Linked DNA regions of Homo sapiens: region 2 is linked to region 1. The links are contacts of gene promoters, found by promoter capture Hi-C in human tissues and cell types (Jung and others, 2019). All regions are on one chromosome and are shown on one strand. The core of a region is centred on a gene start or on the middle of the fragment in contact, and the rest is flanking DNA. Distances in the headings are between cores, read along the strand shown.

What was found. The method cuts DNA at HindIII sites, captures the fragments that hold promoters and counts their contacts. A contact is called where the count stands out against the background at its distance.
Region 2: a contact is called between a fragment that was not itself captured here and the fragment with the promoter of STRIP1 in region 1, in 1 of the 25 tissues and cell types used here (pancreas).

What each region holds. Positions count from the first base shown.
Region 1 is chr1:110,032,994-110,036,087 of GRCh38, forward strand. It overlaps STRIP1 (striatin interacting protein 1), which reads left to right and starts at 1,631. Exons shown (of 21, transcript NM_033088.4): 1 at 1,631-1,824. The coding sequence starts at 1,645. It overlaps LOC105378895 (a long non-coding RNA gene), which reads right to left and starts at 2,446. Exons shown (of 3, transcript XR_947693.3): 1 at 2,416-2,446; 2 at 356-438. RefSeq lists an enhancer at 1,306-1,695 and silencers at 1,696-1,915, 2,156-2,225. The HindIII fragment of the contact is 12,037 bases long and covers 1-3,094 here.
Region 2 is chr1:109,383,955-109,386,988 of GRCh38, forward strand. All of the region lies in intron 1 of SORT1 (sortilin 1), which reads right to left. Among named protein-coding and RNA genes, the nearest start is that of SORT1, 12 kb to the right of the region's middle. The HindIII fragment of the contact is 4,275 bases long and covers 1-3,034 here.

The DNA of each region.
Region 1 (3,094 bases), core at 381-2,880:
GCATTATCATTATATGGCTCTATCAATTACTATCCCTCCCTTGGCTCACTCAATTCCAGACACTAACATCAGGGCTTTTGCATTTAGCTGTTTCATCTGTCTGTGTGCCCTTCCTGGAACTTTGCAGGGCTTCTCCTCACTTCTTTCAGAACTCATCTAAAATCACACCCTCAGGCCTGCCTTCCTTGGGCAGCATGCTTATATTATAGCCACATTCTCCGCCTCCACCAACCCCTGCCCCCCGCCCCACTGCCACCTTTTAACCTCTCAATTTTTGTTACTTCTGACAAAGATTCTCTTCTTTGGCCAAAACTCTAGTCAGGCTCCTGTGAGTCCTCTGCCTACTAGGACTAACCGTTTGGGCTTCCTTTCTGTCCTTGTTGAATCCAGTTTGTGCAGGGACTCTCCACTCTTGGCGTCTTAATCCATTTTTTGTTGCTATAACAGAATACAAAACACTGGGTAATTCATAAAGGAAAGAAAGTTATTTTTTGCAGTTCTGGAGTCTGGGGAGCCCAAAGTCGAGGGGTTGCATTTGGTGAGGGCTTTCTTAAACTGCATGGTAGAGAGCCTCTCACGGTGAGAAAGCAAGAGCATGTGTGCCAGCTCAGATCACTCTTCCTCTTCTTATAAAGCCACCAGTCCCATCACAGGGGCCCTACCCTGACGATTTTATCTAATCCTAATCACCCCCTCAAGGCTCCACCTCCAAATACCATCAACATATGAACTTTAGGATTGAGTTTCCAACGTATGGAATTTGGGGGACACAGTCAAACCATAGCACTCGGTATCTGACCACCCTCAACATCTTAGCACCCTGTCCTGCTTTCAGCAATAATCCTGTTAGGTCAGTTTAGCAAGAAACTTCTTATCCTTGATGTTTCTCTTAGTAGTTTTCCGTCCACTGACCCTCATCCTGCTCTTTGGTTATAAATCCCCACTATATCTTGTTGGAGTCAGAGTTGAGTCTAATTCCTCTTCTTCACTGCAAGATCTGGTTGTAGTGGTCCCTGTAACTATCACCATGGGCTCTCTTACATAAAGTCTGCCTTACCATCTTTAATTAGTGCCATGAACAAATTTTCCTTTAACACTTTTCAGCATTTATTTCTCTATATTTGTCTATTGTTTGTCTGACCCACCAAGCACTGTTATGTACCGTGACTGCAGACACTTGTTCCTCATTTTATCCCACTGCTTGGTGCACAGGAGACATTTATTAAATGTTTGTTGAATGAATGAATGACAAGCACTTGTCACAACGGTAACTCTGTGAAGACTAGGATCCTATCCATTTTGTTCATTACAAAATTCCGCCTAAGCCTTGAACAAGGCTATGAGTTATAAGTGCAAAGCGATTTAGAGGAAGGAGGGGTAACTAAACTGACTGAAGAAGCTAAGGGAAGCCTCACAGATAAAATTACATCTAAACTGAAACTGAAAGGAAGGTGGAAAACTAAAAAGATCAACAAGGGAAGGACTGCAGACAGAATATCGCGAGGTATTGGTCAGCCAAGATGGCTTCTAACACTGGCCGCCACACTTAATATGGCGGCCAGGGAAATTTCCTGGAGAAAATCACGCGAGAGTTGCATCACGGCGGCTGTGCGCGAGTTAAGCTGGGGGTGTGGAGCAGCCAAGATGGAGCCGGCAGTCGGCGGTCCGGGCCCACTGATCGTGAACAACAAACAGCCCCAGCCCCCGCCACCTCCGCCGCCGGCAGCCGCACAGCCACCACCCGGGGCACCGCGGGCCGCCGCGGGCCTCCTGCCTGGGGGCAAAGCCCGCGAGTTCAACCGCAACCAGCGCAAAGACTCAGAGGTCAGGAGCTTCGGGGGGCGAGGCTCGCACCGGGTCGGGCGGCGCCGGGGGTCCCGGGCCCGGGGCCACTCTAGGGGCCAGGTTGGGCTTCCCGGAGGGCTCGGTAGAGTCCGGCCGAGAACTGTCACTATACAGCGAAAGGAGCAGGAAGCGAGGCTGGCAGCTCCTGGGGTCTGGAGCATGAGTCCTTGCTCTAGCTCCGCCGCCCGGGAGAGCTTCCCGTGGCCGGCGACTGCTGGTTTGCTCCCCTGGGCCCCGACTGTGGGCGTGGCCTCGAGGCCCTAGCCCCTGGGGAAGCCGCTCTCGCCCCAGCTCGGGGGTGAGGAGTCGGGGGTCTTGGTGCACTCCAGGGCGCTGGGCTGCCGCGCCCCCAACCTAATCATCTCGGGCGTCTGTCCCTGGCACGCGGGCTCCAGCTCCTGGGTCCTGCCGCTCGCAGAGGAAGGCGCGTGTGGGCAGGGAAGGCGCCGGCGAGGATCTGGAAGGAACTTAGAGCCGGACCGAGCTAATTATCATTGAGAGTAGAGTAGGAGGGGGAAACATGTCCTGTTCTTCTGACCTGAGCCAGATCAGGCCATGGGTTAACAGTACCTGTGGTGGGCTATTGTGCCCAGTGCGCCTGATACTGAACTGTTAAAGATGAGAAATAGACATTTTAAGCATGCGTTAGGACCCAACATTCCTTCCTGTCTCGCTAGTGAGCCGTTCCTGCCGTTCTGGAGATGGCATAGTCTGGAACTGACTAGTAACCTCACCCCAAGTTAAGGAATTCCTCCCACTGCCTCCTTTTGCAGAATTCATGAATGAAGATACTCATGTCGCGGAGTTTTAGGGCTTCTTAATGAGCAGGTTCCCAGAGCACTTACTATGCCATCTCCTAGATTGATCAGCAGCCAAACTGATCAGCCAAGTTAATGAGAGGGAATTCCTAGTTGTCCAAGCATAATGTACCAATTCATACCAAAGAGCAATGATACTACCTTTAGACCTGTGGAATCAGTTCCTCAGAAGCTTTTATTTTTTGTTAGCAAGGCTAAACCCCTGAGAAAACATGTCAACAATTGGCAAGCCCGAAGTAGACGTAATTTGAGCTTGGAGTGAATTATTTGAAAAAAACAAAAACACTGACCATTTAGGAGCCCTGGCATGGTGGGATGACGGACATCAGTGTTAACTACTCAGTTTTTCAAGTGGAAGATTACGAAAGTGCAGGGGGGTGAACCTACCTTCATCATGAGAGGAGTTATCATTTTGAAAAATGGTTTAAAAT
Region 2 (3,034 bases), core at 471-2,970, 650 kb before region 1:
GTGAAATTGGGCAGCACAACCTGACATCATTACCGAAGTGCGGGGGCTAGAATGACAATCTTTCCAGTCTCTCTAAGCTTTAAAATTCTATGACTCATCAATAATTTAGCCACTCAGTTTGCTTTTCAACTGCTATGTATCTGGGTTTTTGTTGTTTTCGAGATCAGCTCCCTGCTCCACAATAAGCCAGTGTTCAAAGGAGAGGGGCAACAGCAACCTCCATGATTCAGATGCCTCAGCAACCCGGATACTCACCGAAAAGAAGCAAGGAGACCTCTGATGTCACTATCATGCATTAAAAATCTGTGCATTTGACTTCTAAGAGAAATTTGCAGACCATCACTCTAATTCAATTTATTAAACCGGTTAGAATTGTCTAATATTAGAAATCTGCTTTCTCAGCATAGAGAGGAAGCAAATCAAATTTGAGGGTGATATATGTAGAGACAGACAGGGACAACAGCAAGAGGAAGAGGATATTACAAGAGGAATTACAAAGGGAATATCATTTCTGCAGCAAAGAAGCAAACAGGCAGACAATGGCATTAAGTTTATAATCCAGGACATCTGAAATGGGAGAAGATAGCCCCACATATCTCAATAGCTCCTGTGGGTATTAAATGTCATACCACATTAAAATACTGTGAGTCATTGTCTTAGTCCATTTTCAGTTGCTATAAGAGAATATCCAAGACAGGGCAATTTATAAAGAAAAGACGTTTATGTAGCTCACAGTTCTGGAGGCTGTGAAGTCCAAGAGTATGGCATAGGCATCTGCAGAGGATCATCCCATGGCAGAAAGTGGAAGCAAGCACAGGAGACACAGAAAAGAAATAGGACCAGGCCAGGCATGGTAGCTCACGCCTGTAATTGCAGCACTTGGGAGGCCAAGGCAGGTGGATCACTTGAGGTCAGGAGTTTGAAACCAGCCTGGGCAACATGGTGAAACCCCATCTCTACTAAAAATGCAAAAATTAGCCAGGTGTGGTGGCGTACACCTGTAATCCCAGCTACTTGGGAGGCAGAGGCACGAGAATCCCTTGAACCTGGGAGGCGGAGGTTGCAGTGAGCTGAGATCACAACACTGCACTCCAGCCTGGACAATAGAGTGAGACTCTGTCTCAACAACAACAACAACAACAAAAAGAAAAGAAATAGGACCAAACTCTCTCCCTATTATAATTAACCCACTCCTGGGATAAAGGCCTTAATCCATTCATGAGTTGGTGCCCTCATGATATAATACCTCTTAAAGACCCACCACTTAATACTGTTACATTGACGATTAAGTTCCTAAAACATGAATTTGGGGAGGCACATTCAAACCACAGCAGTCCTGGTATAGCATAATTTATTCTCTTCTTAGTGACCTAGGCTCATACTGTTGACCAAGAAGGCAGAGAAGTATATTAGAAAGATTTCCATTAAAAAAGCAAGCAAACAAAAAACCTTTGGCACTTATAAAAGGGTAGGCTTAGTTTTTGAAAGTCACTTCCATGAAACAATTCATTTCTCAATAAATAGCTACATTTCATAATTTTTGCATTTAATTGTTATATCTTAGTTCATTTTAAAGAAAAGAAAGTGACAGAGAGATATGCTCCAGTTGCCAGCTGACTGAGCCGAGAGAACCATAAAGGCTTGCTGCTTCTCCCTTGGGTGTGGGCGCTAACCCCTTCCCCCATTCCCTCTGCTACAACCACACTGGCCTTCTTCCAGATCCTGGAGTATGCCAAGCTCTTTCTAGACCCAGGCCTTATGAACATGTTGTTCTCTCTGCCTGAGATACTCTTCCTGGCAAAATTCTATTCAAGTATCAGTTTAAATAATTTCTCAGTGAATCTTTCCTAATGCCCCAGACTAAAAAAGACCTGTCAATTATTCCTGTGGTTACTATTTTTCTTCTTGGTAATTACTACATTTATAATTATATATCATTTAGTGCCATTTTCTCTATTGGTCCATAAAGTTCCATCAAGGCAGAGGTCTGGTGTTCTACACCAGTTCCCAGGACCTGATAAGTGCCTCATGTGTATAGGTGCTCGACAAACAACTGCTGAATTAAAGAAAAACAATAATATTTAACCTTTACTAAGCACTTATTATATTAGTATTATATATTAAGGTACTCACTGTTAATTTATAAAGAAAGCAGCAGGCTCAGAGGCGTTAAGTAATTTGCTCAAAGTCAAAAAGTTGGTAAGTGGCAGAGCAAGGTTTCAATCTCATGTCTGTCTGACTCCAGACTACACATTTCATGACTACTCTTTCTTCAGCATTGTGGGAGGCAAAAGTGATGAAGGACTCATAGTACAAGCTGGGCCCTACCTTTAAGGAGTTTATCATTTAGGGAGTAAAACTTCTATAAATGAAACTGAACACAAGACAGAAGTGTTGTATTACATGGCACAGTCCAAAATTATAGAAGAGAACAGGAAAAACTAACAAGGGCTAGAAGGGCATTCAGACAGGAAGAAACCCATGAAAACAAAGATGGAGAAGCAACAGACCATATGGGGAGCTGAAGGGACTGGTTAGAAGATCACTTTAACTGGAACAGAGGGTTAATATAGGCCAGGAAGTGGTGAAATAGTAGGTTAAATAAATATGCACATAGGCCAGGTGTGGTGGCTCACACCTATACTCCTAGCACTTTGGGAGGCCCAGGCGGAAGGATCACTTGAGCCCAGGAATCCCAGACCAGCCTAGGCAGCATAGTAAGACCTCATCTCTATTTTTAAATAATTGTTAAAAGTTTAAAAAAGCAATATGCACATAATAAAAAATAATTCCATCAACATTCTGGTCCGCTATTCTTTCAAGCAAAGTTCCTAAGAAGTACCTATCACATTTCACTAATATTTCTTGAAACTTCACAGAGATCAGTAGAGTGCAAAGCTAACAGCAGCTGCTCAGTTAAAGAAAGGGGTGAAATATGCAAGGTGCTATTTCAGAGCTATCAACTTAAACCAGAGCCATTAACTCTTAACAAATTAAAGCTTAATGAAGGGGAAGAAAAATTGTTATTAAATTA